2 separate regions of the Homo sapiens genome follow, and region 1 is linked to region 2. Evidence: promoter capture Hi-C in human tissues and cell types (Jung and others, 2019). All regions are on one chromosome and are shown on one strand. The core of a region is centred on a gene start or on the middle of the fragment in contact, and the rest is flanking DNA. Distances in the headings are between cores, read along the strand shown.

Evidence for each region. Contacts are between HindIII fragments. The study calls those that stand out against the background at their distance.
Region 1: a contact is called between a fragment that was not itself captured here and the fragment with the promoter of SHISA4 in region 2, in 1 of the 25 tissues and cell types used here (H1 embryonic stem cells).

What each region holds. Positions count from the first base shown.
Region 1 is chr1:201,753,565-201,756,834 of GRCh38, forward strand. The region is part of intron 7 of NAV1 (neuron navigator 1); the gene reads left to right. All of the region lies in intron 2 of IPO9-AS1 (IPO9 antisense RNA 1), which reads right to left. LOC124904483 (a long non-coding RNA gene) reads right to left here. Exons shown (of 2, transcript XR_007066790.1): 1 at 1-3,270. Among named protein-coding and RNA genes, the nearest start is that of MIR5191, 36 kb to the left of the region's middle. The HindIII fragment of the contact is 4,379 bases long and covers 1-3,270 here.
Region 2 is chr1:201,887,292-201,890,451 of GRCh38, forward strand. It overlaps SHISA4 (shisa family member 4), which reads left to right and starts at 1,607. Exons shown (of 5, transcript NM_198149.3): 1 at 1,607-1,776; 2 at 2,154-2,325. The coding sequence starts at 1,704. RefSeq lists enhancers at 1,100-1,609, 1,450-1,744. The HindIII fragment of the contact is 16,044 bases long and covers 1-3,160 here.

The DNA of each region.
Region 1 (3,270 bases), core at 376-2,875, 130 kb before region 2:
TCAGAATGACAGTGCTCAACTCAAACACCGTGTGTTTTCATTGGCTAGGATAAATGTTTTCCACAGAAATGACAAGGCTTCAGGCTCTCAAGAAGCTCTCATCATGAGAGGTCAAACGATTTTACACACAAACAATTCCACAGCACATTCTGCATCCTTCTTGCAATTTTTAAGCTGTGCTAGGCAAACTCCACATAGGAGCACATTCCAGAAACACACTGGGGGTTACATAAAGGGCTAGCTTCTGTTTGGTGGGTAAATGTGCATATGATTATTGTTGTTACACAAAAGAAGGGACCAATAAAGTCCTGATGTGACTTTCCCAACTACAGAAACCCAAGAAAATTCTTTGCCAGAAGTAGATACATTGTCATTCTGATGGCAGATGACTACCCAAAGAAGGGGAAAGTGAAGGAAAGCTGGAATCTGGGAACTTGCAATGGGATAAAGTTGCTTTGAAGAAAGCACTTAGCAAGTGTTTTTTTTCCATATTGCCTTCTTTCCTGCCACAGACCCTAAGATTCTCTAATCACCTCTGTTCCGGGGAAAATATTTTAATATAACCCCTTGATTCATTCAACAAGTATTTATGGAGAATCTACTCTGTGCCAGACCCTTCCACCCAACCTCTCATACCCTATACAGGAAGATACTCTGCCATCATGTTTGCCAATGGGACAGGACTCCCAAGGGAATAGGTAGAAGAGGAACACCAGTAAGTCAAGAGCCACATATAATGAAAGACCAAAGTGTAAAAGGTGGGCAGAGGAGGAAGAAGGAATCTGGATAAGCAGGAACAGAAAGAGAATGCTGTCACCGAGGCTAACAGAGGGAAGAATTTCAAGGAGTGACTGACAGTGTTAAATGCAACGCAGAAGTCAGAAAGGATGAAAAAGTCCTAGTTGAATTAGCAATGTAGAGATCTTTGGTAACCCTTGCCAAAGAGATTTCAGTGAAGCAGTGGAAATGAAAGCCAAGTTCCAATGAGTGGGGGAGTAAATGTGAGGTAAGGTGGAGAGGCGATGAGTGTAGTAGTTGAAAGGAGAGACAGCTGGTAGCCTACAAATGCAGGCGAAAAGTTCTCTCCATGTGGCTCATGAGTGATGAGGCAGCAGGATCAAACTAGACATAACTATCTCCTGCTCTATCTGCTTTTACCTTTTTAATCCTATGATCTATGCTAGAAAATTTTTTATTTTATGTTATTTGTACCACAGGATTTGATTTTATTTTGTCCTGTTATATTAACTAAACCAGTTTTTAAAAATAGGGAAATAATGCGTTTCATTCAATATGTACAATGGACCCTCCCAATAAATTAGCAATAAATTTACATAATTTGTCTCAAACAATGGAATTATGCTACAATGTTAAAGAATATGTCATATCAGGTATAATGTTTAAAAATGCCAGTCAGGAACAGAGGAATGACTTTAGATAATTTGAGATACAACTTTAGAGAAATTAGTGCCTTTAGACATCAGTAATAAGAATTCAGAGTAAAGACAACATGTTACTTAATACCTTGCCTTAAATATGCCCCAGTTGACATTTTGTACACATTTCAACATTTTTCAGCAACACTAGAAAGAATCAACAAATACTCTCTTATCTCTAAAATAACAATTAAATATTTTGCATAAAAACATTTAAAAACTTAAGATATTATCTTATTTCCCCTGCCTGGGCAACAAATTGAGGCCCCCCCTCTACAAAAAATTTAAAAATTAGCCAGGCATGGTGGCACAGGCCTGTGGTCCCAGTTACTTGCCTGAGGCAAGAGGAGGTCAAGGCTGCAGTGAGCCATGATTACACCACTGCACTTCAGCCTGGGCAACAGAGTGAGACTCTTGTCTCAAAAAAAAGAAGAAAGAGAAGAAGAGGAGGAGGAGGAGGAAGAAGAGAAAGAGGAGGAAGAGGAAGAAGATATACTTATTTTAGCTTAACTTAGTTTTTATTGTTATTTGAAAGGGCAGTAATGATTGGCTATCAACATTGCTGCAGGATAGGAACTAAACTGGTTTCCATGACCAGATATAGGCTAGGAAAACTTGCATTCTTAGTTCAATTTTAGTTAGAGGCTGCAAGACAAGAATCATAGTAGTGTGGTTTGTGAGATTTGGCAATTAATGCACTTACACATTAGTTGCTTTATGTCTGGAAAGACCTGGAAGGTGAAAGTCATTAAAATAAACCTCCTCCTTATGCCTGGCGTGGAGAAGAGGCTCCTAGAAGAAACACAGCTTTAAAAAAAGTTGTGGGCTGGGCACGGTGGCTCACACCTGTAATCCCAGCACTTTGGGAGGCTAAGGTGGGTGGATCCCAAGGTCAGGAGATCGAGACCATCCTGGCCAACATGGTGAAACCCCATCTCTACTAAAAATACAAAAAAATTAGCTGGGCGTGGTGGTGCATGCCTGTAATCCCAGCTACTCAGGAGGCTGAGGCAGGAGAATTGCTTGAACCAGGGAGTCAGAGGTTGCAGTGAGCTGAGGTTGCGCCATTGCACTCCAGCCTGGTGACTGAGTGAAACTCTGTCTCAAAAAAAAAAAAAAAAAAAAAGTGGTGTAGGGTGGGCAGAATAGATCCAGCATGAAAAAGTTGCCACTTAACAGTTTAATTACTACTAAGGAGCAGTGTTCCAAGTAACAGACTGAAAATTGGGGAAAAAAATAAACAAATATGGGCATAATGCAGAGCCTATATAAAAATATTTAAATCTTCAGTTCTCATGTGTTTTTCTAGATTTTCTGTAGTCTGTAGCGCTATAATCATATTTTCAGACATTTAAAAAGCTTAGTTCCCTGAATGCTTCATACTTCCTTGCTAATTCTGGAGCAAAACCATTTTACCAACTCTTCATATTGTTTTATGTCTCCCTACAAAATATCAACACAAGGCACAAGAAGTGTCTCAGGGCCCTCTACATTTTATAACTAAACATTTGGTCTCTCTGGCCAAATAGACTGATGGTGTCCTGGGTTGTTGCCAAGTAGGGAAGACTCTGCAGTCTCCTTCATAATGCCTTAAAATCCCTACTTCCTTGCTGCCTAGCTTTTTAGTCAATATTTTGCCTTCATGTGACTCAATATGTAGAAATTCTCTGCATTTTCACCCTGAAGAAAAATTCCTTCTCCAGACCAATAGGTTTTCTTCTCCAGCACATCCCACATTTTTTATAGTTCCTTCTCCAGGTGTCTGGAAAAGGGCAAAGAACTAATGAGCAATTCTCTTTCTTTCTTTCCTTCTTTCTTTCTTTCTTTCTTTCTT
Region 2 (3,160 bases), core at 357-2,856:
AGTCCCTTATCTGAAGATGATTCAACCAACAATGACAACACTGATGGCTAGGGCTGGATGGCCACATTGAACACAGCCACGTGGTCCCTGCAGTCATGGAGCTTTTAGTGTAGGAAAGAGGAGATGGATGGCAATGGGCACACTGAGTAGGTGGTGCTGGATTCAGAGGCGTTTCTCTTTGTCCCTGCTGCTGCATTTATGACTGTGTCCTGCGTGAGGACATACTCTTGCCCATCAGGCTACCAGCAACTTTCTGGGGCAGGAGCCTATCCTCTCCTATTCCAGCTCTCTTGGGTAGGTGTGCCAGCACCCACAGGGGCCCAGGATGGGGTAGCTCCTCTTTCGGCTGTCCTTCCCTAACCTACTAAGATTCTACTGGGCCTTCCATGGACCTGTCCTGATTCTCTCACCCCAGAACACAAGAAATACTCACTGTCTACACTGTCTGCTGTTGCGGCTGGGGATCAACCCTGATTTAGATTTGGGTCTTCCTGATGCCTCTACCATTTACTGGCTGTATTACCTTGAACAAGTTCTTTAACCTCCATGAGTCCTAGTTTCTCAGTCTGTGAAATGCGATTGATAACACTGATGAACCTTGCTTAGTTCATGGAGTTGTGGAAAGATTCCAGTGAGGTAGATGTGGAAGCCCAGAAGTGTGTGAAAGGGTGTACATGGCAGGGGATTAAGGTAGGCTTTTGATGATCTCCCTGGCTTAATTTGCAGTTCCTCGGAGGGTACCTCATGTAGCATGGGGCATAGTCACTGGCACTCAGTATAAACCTGTGAAGACTGACCTCTCCCATCCTAAAACACTGTCTCCACCTGGAATTAACTGTTGCCCACCTGAAATTAACTGTTGCCCTCCCTATGCTCCGGTGGCTATTGCAGTACAGGCTTGCTCTGTGAAGGGCTTTCACTGTGAAGAGTGTTTAACTGGATGGGCCCCAGGTGGCCCCAGCAGCCTGCCTTCCCTGCTAGTGAGGCCATGGGCTGGTGCATGCCAGCTCTGTCCACTTGAAGGGGGAAGGGTCCATCGTAGGGAGCCAGTGCAGCTGGCAGGGTTCAGGCCTGTGGGCACCGCTGGGGACAAAGCCACTCTGAATGCCTCTCAATGAGTGCTTGTGTTCTGGGAATGGGGGCGGGGTGACATCCAGCCTCTTTCCCTCTCCGCCCCCGACAGGATGTCCCAGGCTGGACGCGGCAGAGGAGGTCCCCCACAAGTGAAGGTCCAGCCCTGCTCCTCCAGGGTTGGCCCATGTGTCTGGGCATTCGGAGGTGGCACCAGGATCAGGGCTTCTGGAGTCCAGCATAGTGATTGGGCCCAGGCCGGGGGCGGGTCCAGGACACAGCCAGGCTTCCCTGGCCGCAGTGCCCAACTGCCCGCAGTGCCCATGGTGGCTCGGATGGGAGGAACCACCGCGGAGCCGGGGACAGGGGGAGCAGGGCAGTGCTCTGCTGGGTGAGGGGCACCCAGCTCCAGAGGCTAGGTGGGCGTCGCTGGTGGGTGGACTCCTGGGCGCTGCGCGGAGCCGCGCCGGCTGGGTTAGCGCGGGCGGGGCGCTTAGTCCCACCCCCAGAGGAGGCGGAAGAGGAGCCCGAGCCTGGCCGCGGGCTGGGCCCCGCCGCAGCTCCAGCTGGCCGGCTTGGTCCTGCGGTCCCTTCTCTGGGAGGCCCGACCCCGGCCGCGCCCAGCCCCCACCATGCCACCCGCGGGGCTCCGCCGGGCCGCGCCGCTCACCGCAATCGCTCTGTTGGTGCTGGGGGCTCCCCTGGGTAAGGGGATGGGGAGAGATGCGGCAGGAGTGGGATGGGGGCGGAGGAAGGGGAGGGACCGATCCGAGGGGCTTGGGCTCGGGGCTTCTCCGAGACCCTCCGGCTGCCACGGGAGCCTTGGGTGTTGCTGGGTCCTCAAGAAGCGGGAAGAGGGAGCTCCAGGATGCTGGGCCATGGGAGGCTGATCCCGGGGTGCAGGGTCAGCTTCAGGCAGAGGCCTCGGGGGCTCTGGGGCTGAGACCCTCAGGGTGGAGACAAGGGGCAACCCTCAGTGTTCGGGAGCCGTCAGGCTGGGGACCGCCGGGGGAGTGGGGCCGAGCGCGGCTGGGGATGAACTGGCCTGGTGGCCACTGGGCACCCCCAATCCCTGCCCGCAGTGCTGGCCGGCGAGGACTGCCTGTGGTACCTGGACCGGAATGGCTCCTGGCATCCGGGGTTTAACTGCGAGTTCTTCACCTTCTGCTGCGGGACCTGCTACCATCGGTACTGCTGCAGGGACCTGACCTTGCTTATCACCGAGAGGCAGCAGAAGCACTGCCTGGCCTTCAGGTGGGTTCCTGCCTCCTCACCCTCACCACCTCCTCTATCCTTTTCTCCAGAGGCCTCCTCTTCCTCCCTCCCGGACTCCTGCCTCCTCCGTTGTCGACCTCCACATTCTTAGCTGAATAGAGTCACCAGGACTCAAGCCTGGCGGCAGAGCTAGGTGCTTAGGTGCTGGTGCCTGGGAGTTCCAGAAAAGGCATGTTAGTTACCTTCATAGGCTTTGACTGGGCCCGGGGTTTCCAGGTTCTTTCTGGAGCCCTCCCTTTGGTCCTGCCAGGTCATGGGGAGGGAGGGTTCAAGGTTAACACCCGGACGACAGTGTAGCTTTGTGGAAGAAGCTCTGGCACAAAGGCAGGAGACTTGGGTTTGATTCCCAGGTCCACTTCTTACTAGCTGTGTGATCTTGGAGAAGACACTTGCCTTCTATGGGTCATTGCTTGCCAAATTAGTGGTTGTCAAACTTTTTTTTAATATATCATATATAAAATAGATATAGAGACTTCTGATTGAAGCGGGGTTTGGAAAAAATGGCTCTAGATTATTTCTAAGGCTCCTTTCAGTGTTATGCTGTATGTCTAATCATTTAAGTTGTAGATATAAAAGCAATGGTTGGGGGCGCACTGCAAATCCCCGTATGCTTCACACTAGCCAGCCAGGCAGCATAGCCTTCTGGGAAGTGGAGGTCCTCTAAGATCTCCTTCACAGGGACTGGGCAGAGCCCCACAAGGAACCCCAAATCTCAGCATGCCATGGCCCCCCTGCTGGCCAGGAGTTGGAGCCAGCATAATGAGGACTCCGTCCTATGAGTGTTGGAAGGTGAGAGGACCTGTTCTTTGTCTAA